Regions from separate parts of the Homo sapiens genome. Here all the other regions are linked to region 4. Evidence: promoter capture Hi-C in 16 types of primary human blood cells and fetal thymus (Javierre and others, 2016). All regions are on one chromosome and are shown on one strand. Each heading gives the region's core, a stretch centred on a gene start or on the middle of the fragment in contact. The rest is flanking DNA. Distances are from core to core; before and after follow the strand shown. Region 1 holds the start of LINC01801 (long intergenic non-protein coding RNA 1801). Region 2 holds the start of LRFN3 (leucine rich repeat and fibronectin type III domain containing 3). Region 3 holds the start of SDHAF1 (succinate dehydrogenase complex assembly factor 1). Region 4 holds the start of LINC01531 (long intergenic non-protein coding RNA 1531).

Evidence for each region. Contacts are between HindIII fragments. The CHiCAGO score rates a contact against its expected background, and 5 or more counts as called.
Region 1: the fragment with the promoter of LINC01801 here is called in contact with the fragment with the promoter of LINC01531 in region 4 in 9 of 17 cell types (naive CD8 T cells, total CD4 T cells, naive CD4 T cells and 6 more); the score reaches 19.9 in naive CD8 T cells.
Region 2: the fragment with the promoter of LRFN3 here is called in contact with the fragment with the promoter of LINC01531 in region 4 in 2 of 17 cell types (total B cells and neutrophils); the score reaches 7.4 in total B cells.
Region 3: a contact is called between the fragment with the promoter of SDHAF1 here and the fragment with the promoter of LINC01531 in region 4, in 10 of 17 cell types (M0 macrophages, total B cells, neutrophils and 7 more). The highest score is 14.9, in M0 macrophages.

The regions. Positions count from the first base shown.
Region 1 is chr19:34,831,541-34,834,293 of GRCh38, forward strand. It overlaps LINC01801 (long intergenic non-protein coding RNA 1801), which reads right to left and starts at 1,329. Exons shown (of 6, transcript NR_033982.1): 1 at 1,185-1,329; 2 at 790-996. The HindIII fragment of the contact is 2,823 bases long and covers 1-1,656 here.
Region 2 is chr19:35,934,924-35,937,623 of GRCh38, forward strand. LRFN3 (leucine rich repeat and fibronectin type III domain containing 3) reads left to right here and starts at 1,451. Exons shown (of 3, transcript NM_024509.2): 1 at 1,451-2,632. The HindIII fragment of the contact is 21,793 bases long and covers 1-2,700 here.
Region 3 is chr19:35,993,814-35,996,513 of GRCh38, forward strand. It overlaps SDHAF1 (succinate dehydrogenase complex assembly factor 1), which reads left to right and starts at 1,375. Exons shown (of 1, transcript NM_001042631.3): 1 at 1,375-2,499. The coding sequence starts at 1,462. The coding sequence ends at 1,809. RefSeq lists enhancers at 338-837, 1,172-1,221, 1,482-1,561 and silencers at 1,622-1,681, 1,712-1,831. The HindIII fragment of the contact is 4,511 bases long and covers 1-2,520 here.
Region 4 is chr19:35,404,355-35,407,054 of GRCh38, forward strand. It overlaps LINC01531 (long intergenic non-protein coding RNA 1531), which reads left to right and starts at 1,253. Exons shown (of 5, transcript NR_040046.1): 1 at 1,253-1,327; 2 at 2,231-2,700. The HindIII fragment of the contact is 14,783 bases long and covers 1-2,700 here.

The DNA of each region.
Region 1 (2,753 bases), core at 79-2,578, 570 kb before region 4:
AATCTATGGAGATATATATCATCCCTGTGGCCTGGAAAAGTTAATATTGGCAAGTTGTCCATCTTGGCCAGGACCCTGAAAGATAGTCTATGTTATTGTAAGAAAGATTGGTGTCCTTGGGGGCATGGGCTTTTAAGCCAGGGTGGAATCTGCAGAAGTCTGAGGTGCCATTTCCTGTCCCTATACCTGGGAGAAAATAGCTCTCAGACAGCTGTGTGGCTTTCTGCAAAGCTCAATTAGAAGAGAAATTATCAGGCGTGGTGGCGCATGCCTGCAGTCTCAGCTACTTGGGAAGCTGAGGTGGGAGGATCTCTTGAGCCCAGGAGTTCGAGGTTGCAGTGAGCTGTGACTCCAGCCTGTGTGACAGAGTGATACGCTGTCTGGAGAAATTCATCATGGAGATATGCTGATAATTGGTGGTCCCTGCCTACATCCTCCCAGGAGACTGAGCCAGACCCGGTGTGGCCAATGGTCCACTTATAAATTGAACCATGTTAGACCTCCTAACAGTGCAAGTACTCATTACAGCTCTGACATGGTGCTAAGCACCCCAAGTATTATAAACAAGTGTAATCCATTATGCACACACGGTGAGGCTACACCAAAGTCTGGTGGTTAAATGCATGATCTGTGGAATCAGACAGCATGGGTTCAAACCCTGGCTGGGGTGAGATGGGGAACTTTCTAAGGCTTAAATGCTGTTTTACCAAATATTTTAAAAGAAGTGAAAATACACTGCCTGTTAGAAAGGGAAGTTTTGGGGTGAAGCATGTGGGCAGTTTAGAATACCTGGTGTCCACCTCAGAAACCATCACAGCCCAGATGTTATAGGTTCAGGCCTTTCCAGGGCGGGCACATAGAATGTCCTCGCCTCCAAGGTTTGGAGAGCTGCGCTATAAAGGTTCTTGCAGGCGGTGTCCTGAGCCCAGAGCTGCCTGCAGGCGGGCAGGAGTTGTGGGGGTGTTGGCATGATCTGGTGTCCTCTGTGGCGGCTGCCTGAAAAGAAGAGGCCGAGGGTTCTTTGTCCTATGTCTCTCCGAATCTTAATACCTGCCCTGCAGCAGACTCCCTGGCTGCCAGGGCACACCGGTCACCCCGGTAGACGGTGCCGCCCCGCCCTCGCCAACCCCTTATCCCAACTCCCATTTCCAGCCTTCCAGGAAGCCCGATCCCCACCCCCGCACCATGTGAGCTGCTCCTCTACTCCGCGTAGGGGAGGCTCTGCCTCCGGTGACCCCGAGGGAAAGAGCTAGAGCACCCACAGGTGCTGACTGCTGCGGCGCTGAGGACGCTGCACACCCGTTCACCGGCTGACCCAGTGCTGCTGACAACCAGCGTCCGCGGCCCCCAACCGTCGAACAGAGCGCGTGGGACCATCTGGTGCCAAACGCCTGCAACGGAGTGCAGAAGGTCACGAGGCGCTAGAGACCGGTTGGGGGCAGGCGGTTGGGCCTTGACGCTCTTTGCTGGGCGTCGTTTTTTCTTCTCGCCCCCTTCGCTCCTGTGCGCTTAGTGCACAAGCCCTGGGCTCACACACCCTTTCTCTGTCACGTGTTCCAACAGCATCTCACCTGCATCGGGCTGAACAGGAGACCTCAATTTTCTCCTCTACTCCAAGGATTCGCCGGCTCACAATTGCTCTTCATATCTTCAGCAAGCTTTGTCTGTGCCCTGCCCCTCTGTCCCCCATTGCCTACCATACCCGCTCCCACCAAGCCTGCATCACCTCGCTGTCTCTGTGCCTCTCCCCGGCCCCCTTCCAGGCCTTTCTCCCACAATTTCTGGTCTTTGCTCCTGGGTGTTCCGTCGACCCTAAGAGGCGGTGTCTGATCTGGCAGGCTCAATGCCTTTCTCTGGCGCTGTCTGCACCTCCAATATATTCAGTGACTCAGGAAGGATCCATCCTGCAGGGCCCAGATAGACTCTCCTGTTTGCCACCTGAGCAGAAAGGCACCTCTGTGAGGTCTTTGCCACCCAGTCACCCTACCAGACCCAATCAGCACGTGGGAGACGTGGATGACAGGAGGACAGAGATGGAGAGGGACCAAAAGACTACATGGGGCCTTGAAGGATGTCATAAGAACGTTGCCTTTTACTGAGAGATGGGAACCATGGAGGGTTTCAAACTGCTGAGACTGGCATGATATGACTTAGGGCTTTTTTGTTTGTTTGTTTGTTTGTTTTTTCTTTTTTGTGACGGAGTCTCAGAGTCTTCCTCTGTCATCCAGGCTGGAGTGCAGTGGTGTGATCTTGGTTCACTAGAACCTCTGTCTCCCGGGTTCAAGACATTCTCCTGCCTCAGCCTCCCGAGTAGCTGGGATTACAGGCACCCACCACCACGCCCGGCTAATTTTTGTCTTTTTAGATGTTTTATCTCAGAGAAAGAGCTTCCATGTTCTCTAACTCTTGTAAACAGGTATTCTTCAAGAAACTTTACAATATAACATTCATACACAGAAGTGTACAAATCATCTGTCTATTCCTCAATACATTTTTGCAGAATGAACAAACCTATGTAATCTAGATCAAGAAGCAAAACACAGGCACCTCAGAATCAACCTCATGCTCATTCCTAGTCACTATGCCCCTCCCAAATTTTTAACATTATAGATTAGTTTTGCCTATTTAAAAACTTTATATAAATGGAACCCTACCATGTGTCCTGTTTGTGGCTGTGTCTTTTCATTCAACACTTCATAAAATTCATCCATGTTGTTGCTTTTAGCAGCACTTTATTCTTTTATATTGCTGTG
Region 2 (2,700 bases), core at 201-2,700, 530 kb after region 4:
CCTGAGGCCAAGAGTTCAAGACCAGCCTGGGCAGCATATTGAGACCCTGTCTCTACAAGAAATTTTAAAAATTAGCTGGATATGGCGATGCATGCCTGTAGTCTCAGTTACTCTGGAGCCTGAGGTGGGAGGATTGCTTGAGCCCAGGAATTTGAGGTTGCAGTCAATTATGATTGCACCAATGTACTGGGTGACAAAGCAAGACCCTGTCTCAAAAAAAAAAGTATGGTCTTTGAAAAGTCACATTAGCATCACCTGGGTACTCGTTAAAAATGCAAATGTTTGGGTCCCACCTCAGACCCACTGAACCAGAAACTCTGAGGTTGGGACCTGGAGATCTATGGTGCCCCCGGGTGATCCTGGTGGGCTGCACTGCAAGGACACCTGGCCTGGCTCCTGCAAGGCAAGGCATCCCTCTCTGCTTTTCTTTCTTTCTTTCTTTCTTTTAAAGACAGAGTCTCACTCTGTCACCCAGGCTGGAGTGCAATGGCTGGATCTCAGATCACTACAATCTCCACCTCCCGGGTTCAAGCAATTCTCTTGCCTCAGCCTCCCGAGTAGCTGGGATTACGGGCGTCCGCCACCACACCCGGCTAATTTTTGTATTTTTAGTAGAGACGGGGTTTCTCCATGTTGGCCAGGCTGGTCTCCAACGCCTGATCTCAAAAGATCCGCCCGCCTTGGCCTCCCAACGAGCCGGGATTACAGGCGTGAGCCACCGCCCCCGGCTGTCAGTGTGTCTTGAGGTCTTTCCCTAATCCCAGATGGCACAAGTTTTCCCTCTTGCAGGCAGAGAAAGGAGCCTTGGGAAGGAGCCCCTCTGGCCTGAAAGATCAAGCCTATTGCTGGGCATGGCCAGGTAAGGAAACTCCAACCGTGGAAAGGACATTCCAGGGAGGTGGTGCTGAGATAAGGGGGGCAGAAAGAGACAGGTTTGGGGGGCCAGTGGCTCTGGAATGAAGCGCTACACTCAAGGCTAGGAATAGTTACTGAATGCACATACACACATACCATTCTCACAGCCCAGGTGCTGCGTCTTAGAGCGTGTGAGTGTGTATGTGTGTGTCTGTGTGTGCGCGCGCACGCACGTCTCTATCTCTGTTTCTGTCTTTCTCTGACTTGTCCTTATCTCTTGTCTCTCCATCACTCTCTGTGTCTCGCTGTCTCTGTGCATTTCCATGTCTCGAATATGTGTGTGTTTCAATCTGTCTCTCTGCCTCTTTCCATTTTCTCCTCTCTATCCATCAATCTAAGCCTGCCCATCTTTTTGTCTGCCTTTCTGTATCTCCGTTCTTCTCTGTCTCTCTGTCTCAGTCTCTCTGTATCCAGGGATTCTCTTTCCCAGCAGCGCCAGTGCGACTCCATGGGAGGTGGGGCCGGGGCGCGTCTTTGAGAGAAGGGGCGGGTGCCTACGCCTTTAAGCGCGGGTGCGCGCGGAGCCTGCGCCTTTAAGCGCCGGTGCGCGCGCTGCCCTGGGTTGCCGGCGAGGAGGCCGCGGGAGCGCCTGGACCCGGCCCGCCCAGCCCGGCCCCCGCCCGGCCCCCGCCTCGGCCCCGGCGGGGGAGGGGTCTCTGAGCGCGGCCCCTCCCCCCTGCGCCCCCGCCTGCGCTGCGGTGCCCCCATCCCGCGTGTCCCAGTCTGTCTGACCGTCCCTCCGCTCCCAGGCCTCGCCCCACCCGGCCCTGGGGCTGCCCGGTCGCCCCCCTCCCCACCGCAGCCGGTCCCCTCCCTCCCAGTCAGCCTCCGCCGCAGCCCAGGAAGCCAGCCGGGACGCCGCCGCCCCGGACCCCGCGCCCTAACCTCCACCTCGGGGGCCTGCACCCCCAGATTGAATCGGGAATTCCGGAAACCCGAGCCTGGAACCCTGATCTGGGACCAGCACCCCGAGATCCGGCCGTGGAACCCCAAGATCTGGAGCCTGAACCCCAGTATATGGGGCTGGAATCTCAACATCGGTCACTGGGACCTCAATATTTGGAGCCGGAACCCCACAATTTGGAACACAGACCCCAATATTTGGAGCAGAACCCCAAGATTTGACATCTAAAACCTCAAGCCTGGAGCTGAACTCTGAATTCTGGGCCTGGGACCTTGAAATCTGGGACTGGATTTCCAGTACTGTACCCTGGAACCCACTCTTGGGGACCTGAACCCTGGGATTCAGGCCTCAAATTCCAAGATCTGGACTGTGGGATTCCAAGGGGCCTGAACCCGAGTTTGGGCCTGAAGTCCTTGCTGCAGACCTGAGTGCTTAAATCTGGGGCTTGAGACCTCCCAATCTTGACTCAGCACCCCAATATCTGAATGCAGAACCCCGGGATCGGATCTCAGACTCTAAACCCCACCGTTTGGCTGCTTAGCATCCCAAGACTGGACCTGGGAGACCCTGACCCTGAACAACCCAAACTGGACCCGTAAAACTGGACCCTAGAGGCCCAATATTTAGGGGTCTGGAACCCCGAGTATTAAGGTCTGGAGACTCCGTTGCCACAGATTTGAGCCGAGTCAGGACACAGTCCCTCTACAGAAGCCTTGGGGACAGGAAAAGCATGACCAGATGCTCCCTCCAGAGCCCTGACCTCTGACTCCCCTGGAGCTAGGACTCTGCTCCCTGGGGCTGCTTCTAGCTCAGGTAAGGCTGCTGAAACCTCAAGGTGGGGACGGGCTGGGAGGAGCATTGTGGCTGCGGGTTACGGTACC
Region 3 (2,700 bases), core at 125-2,624, 590 kb after region 4:
ACAGGTGTGAGCCACCGTTCTAGGACATGTATTTTTGATAGATACATACACCTGCCAGGCAGGATTCACAGTGGTTTGTGATTCTCCCCTGACTCCAAGACTCCAAGCCTAATCCCCGCCCCTGACCAGCTTCTCCTCTCTGAAGGGGAATGGACCCCCCAGCTGGTTGCCGGCCCAAGTGTGCAGAGCCGCGGTTGCGCGCTGGGTGGAGGGGTCCCCCAAGCTCCGGTGCTGGTGGGGCCCGAGGATGCTGTGTCCTTGCGGGCCTCCCTAGCGCTACGAGGACACCTCCAGGCGGCCCGCGGGGACAACAACGGCATTGCGGCCTACCACCTAAAGCTCCTGGGAGGACAACGGGGTTGCAGTCTAGTCGACTGTTCAGGGTGTCCCGGACTCCGGGCTTTAACAGTCGGTAAGGACCCAAACACCGCTGTCCACTGCCCCGACTCCCACCCGCAGAGGGCGCGACCAACCCAGCTCCTAGAGCCACACGCTGCCTCTGGGGGCTTGGCGCCCACACTCTCTCTGCTTGTCTTCCCCTGGCCCGAGAAGCCTGTCCAACCGGCCGAGAGCCATTTCCCTACGGGGTCTCGTCCCTCTGCACGTGCCCAGGGCTGGGACCCCAGACACAGACCTGCCCCGGACGAGGGAACGCACGGAGCTTCCCAAGATGGTTTGAATCAGTAACTGACGGCAAAAGCACGCTTGTGCCCGGCGTCTCTCCCAGTGCCCCGTGCCCTTGGGACCCAAAGTCCGAACCGGTAGCCGGGCGCGGTGGCTCACGCCTGGAATCCCAACACTTTGGGAGGCTGAGAATCGTTTGAGCCCAGGAGTTCGAGCCATTCTGGGCAACATAGGGAGACCCATCTCTGCAAATAATAATAATAATAAATAAATAAATAAATAAATAAATAAATAAATAAATAGCGGGCGCGGTTGCGCGCGTCTGTGGTTCCAGCTACTAGGGGAGTTGAGGTGGGAGGATCGCTTGGGCCCAGGAGTTCGAGGCTGCAGTGAGCCAAGATCGCGCCACTGCACTCCAGCCTGGGCGACAGCGAGACCCCGTCACACACAAAAAAACCCCTAGCTTCCTCTTCTCCCAGAATGCAGGAGTTAGGTGAGGACCCTCTGTTCCCTCCAACCCAAGACCTAGGAGTCCGAACACATAACGCCCTCCAGGCGGTGCCAGGATCCCCAGAACTGCTGTCCCCTCAAGAACACACGTCCCCTACGTGGGAGGCCGCGACCAGCGACTCCGCCCACTTCTCCCAGCCGGCTGTTACGTAACTGCAACGACAGCCAGTCAGACGCGGCAGCGCCGGATGGCGGGAGGCGGGAGTTGGAGGCCAAGGGAAGCGCTGGGCGGAAGTGGCTGTGGCTTTGCCCTTTGGCCTTTGCTGGCTGTGTGGCGGCTCCGCGGTTCGCAGGTCGTTCGCTGAGCGTCTCTGCTTAGCCGCGGTCATGAGCCGGCACAGCCGGCTGCAGAGGCAGGTTCTGAGCCTGTACCGCGATCTGCTGCGCGCCGGGCGTGGGAAGCCGGGCGCCGAGGCGCGAGTGCGGGCAGAGTTCCGGCAGCATGCGGGCCTGCCGCGGTCCGACGTGCTGCGCATCGAGTACCTGTACCGCCGCGGGCGGCGCCAGCTGCAGCTGCTACGCTCGGGCCACGCCACCGCCATGGGCGCCTTCGTACGCCCGCGGGCCCCGACCGGGGAGCCTGGCGGCGTGGGTTGCCAGCCTGACGACGGCGACAGTCCAAGGAACCCCCACGACAGCACGGGGGCACCGGAGACCCGCCCCGACGGACGGTGACAGGCGAAGAGCCGAACTCGCTCGATGGCGTGGTGGAGCCAGGAGGCTCGCCTGACTGCATGGGGGGACTGGGGAACCCGCCTAAGGTGAGAGGTCTTAAGAGACTAGCTTGACGAATTGGGGATGTCAGAGACTCCTCCTTGGCGACGCAGGGGGCCTAGAGAGCCCCGTGATGGACGGCAAGGGAGGCCCGCCTTTTCCGATGCTTGGAGACAGGTCGGTGCTCCTCCCCCATGAGGGCTTGGGGCGGCCTGGGACGCTGGCGGGCTGGACAGTGTCAAGCCAAGAGCTACTTGCCCGAAGGTACGGGGAGCCAGGACGACCCCCGGTGGACAGGGAGAGCCTGAGACGCCCTTCTCTTGACCCCTGAGAACATACCCACTTCTGGCTCCTCAAGGAGTCTCCCCTCTCCTGTATTTAACTCTGAGAAGTGCAGACTTTTTGCTGAGAACGTTTTGGGAAGGTGCCCTGATGAGCGGTGAGAAGCCCGGAATCCCCTTCTGGAAAACTTTCCCCCATTAATTGTGACAAGCCAGGACCATGAGGAAGGGGTAGGGGTCTATCACCCTGGTTGATCAACTGAAGACCCCCAAAGGCCCCTACTTGATGGTTTTGAGGGGCAACATTGACTCATTTGCCCCTTCCCTCTCGGAATGTTGGACAAAGGGAATAAAATTGGGGATATGTCTACTTCCCTGTTGGTGGTCTTAAAGCTTTTATATATTTCAGGATTTTTGAAACACCCCCAGCCCCCCTGCCACCACACACACACGCACACAGACACCTGGAAGGGACCATCTGGGAGGTGATAGGTGTGGGGATCTGACTCCTTCCGGAGCCCTGTAGACTGGCACATTGATTGAAGCGGCATAGTTTTCTCCCCTGGGCAGA
Region 4 (2,700 bases), core at 3-2,502:
CAATTTCCCTGCTTGCTTTTTGTTGTTGTTGTTGTTGTTGTTTGATTTTTGGTCCTTTTTTTTTTTTTTTTTTGAGGCAGAGTCTTCCTCTGTCGCCCAGGCTGGAGTGCAGTGGCATGATCTCGGCTGACTGCAATCTCTGCCTCCCAGGTTAAGGTGATTCTCCTGCCCCAGTCTCCTGAGTAGCTGGGATTACCAGTGCCCGCCACCATACCTGGCTAATTTTTGTATTTTTAGTAGAGACAGAGTTTCACCATGTTGGCCAGGCTGGTCTCAAACTCCTGACCTCAAGTGATGTGCCCGCCTCAGCTTCCCAAAGTGCTGGGGTTACAGGCATGAACCCCACCACGCCTAGCCGATTTATTTTCTTTCCCTTTTTTTTCCCCCAGACAGGACCACTGGATTGGAGTGGTGCCATCATAGTTCATTTTAATTTCCAACTCCTAGGCTCAAGTGATCCTCCCGCCTCAGCCTCCTGAGTATCTAGGACTACAGGTGTGCACCACCATGCCTGGCTAATTTTTTATTTTTATCCTTTTTTGTAGAGACAGGGGATCTCACTATGTTGCCCAGGCTGGTCTCAAACACCCAGCCTTAAGCAATCCTCCTCCTGCCTCAGCCTCCTAAGTAGCTGGGATTATAGGTGTGAGCCACCATGCCTGACTTTTTATCTCACTTTTTGTAGAGACGGGGTATCGCTATGTTGACCAGGCTGGTTTTGAACTCCTGGCCTCAAGCAGTCCTCCTGCCTGGGCCTCCCAAAGCGTTGAGATCACAGACGTGAGCCACCTTGCCTGGCCTACTTCCTTTCTTCCTGTAAAATTGCCTTGTTGGTTTGTCTACTTGTTTTCTGTTCATCCTGTTCACTCTTGTCTCCAGCTCCTAGAACAGTACCTCACACAGAGTAACGGCTCCATGTGTTTTGTGACAGGGAAGCAGACAGTGTGGCTTGTTGGAGAGGAGCCACATACCCCCGCCCCCCGATTCATACATGGTGTGACTCAGCCCGAACCATTGCTCAGTTGAGTTGGATTTGAGATGATGCACTGCCCACTCCCGTGATACAGCTGTGTGTGAGGTCAGCACAGTCTTGGGGTGCTGCCAGACAACTTAGTTTGAATTCTCCCTTTGACTCATTGGAACCTAGACCTCAGCACCAAAGATGTCCCCATACCAGTAACCCGGGCAACAGAATGCAGATAAAGGACAGGAGACAAAAGGCGCAGGTTCTGACACATTCTTTGCTTGTGTCATCAGCTAGCAAGTATTCACAGGCACATCCAACCTCCATCCTTACATTCCACAAGGATTTGAGTGTCTGTTATAGGCAAGGGACAATGCTAGGTTTTTTTTTCTAAAAACAAACTTGGGGCTGGGCATGGTGGCTCACACTTGTAATCCTAGCACTTTGGGAGGCCAAAGCGGGTGGACTGCCTGAGCTCAAGAGTTCGACAACTCTTGGTAACATGGTGAAACCCCGTCTCTGCCAAAAATACAAAAAATTAGCCAGATGCAGTGGCGTGCACCTGTGGCCCAGCTTCTCGGGAGGCTGAGGTGTGAGGATCACTTGAGCCCGAAAGGTGAAGGCTGCAGTGGGCCGCGATTGCACCACTGAACTCTAGCCTGGGCAACAGAGTGGGACCCTGTCTCAAAACAACAACAACAAAATAAGAAAGAAAGAAAGAAAAAGCGGAAGTGAGAGATGGATGTGCGTGTAGTCGTGTGGGATAATTGCCCATGGGAAGGAAACAGAATTCAACCTCTTGGAATGTAGGGGGAGGAGGAAGCCTGAAAAAACTGTTCAAATTTGGATTCTGGGCTGAGCACAGTGGCTCACGCCTGTAATCCCAGCACTTTGGGAGGCAAGGCAGGCGGATCACTTGAGGTTCGGAGTTCGAGACTAGCCTGGCCAACATGGTGAAACCCTGTCTACAAAAAATACAAAAATTAGTCGGGCGTGGTGTTGCACACCTGTAATCCCACTACTTGGAAGGCTGGGGTAGGAGAATCACTTGAACTAGGGAGGCAGAGGTTGCAGTGAGCTGAGATCGCACCACTAAACTCCAGCCTGGGTGATAGAGCAAGACTCTGCCTCAAAAAAAAAAAAATTGGACTCTGGGTGAAATAAGTCTGTTGGGGACAAAATCTGGTGGGAGACCCAGAAGGTCAAGCTGCTTTAGAAAGAGCTCAACCACTGACTTTCCTCTTTTTGACCACATGACTCTTCCAGGTATAAAAGCCTGCCGTTGGTGGAAAAGGAAAAGGTGGTCCAGTTAGACAAGATGCCACCGGCTTCTGAAACCAGACATCTTTGAAAACCCACCCATCTACCTGCAGGAAAAGGCAAGGGACCTGACCTCGCCTGGGCTCAGGGAAGAGGTTGCTGGGATCATAACCCCAGGAAGAGACGGGATGGAAGGAGAGCATGCAGGGAGCAGAGGACAGGCTACTCTCCAAGGAGGAGAGGGAAGAGGCCACAGAAATGGAAAAGGGGCCAGGACAAGTCAGTGGAGAGATGGTCAGGGCCTGGCGAGGAGGAGCAGGACAAAAGCGGTGGAGCTCAGCCCCGTGGCGGCAGGGCCACTCCCATTCATCTGGTCCTCTACTTCTGAAGTTCTCGAATGCAGAATGAGATGTACAGATGGGCCAGCAGGTGATATGCTATCTGTCATAGGTTAAGGCCTCATTATTTTATTCATT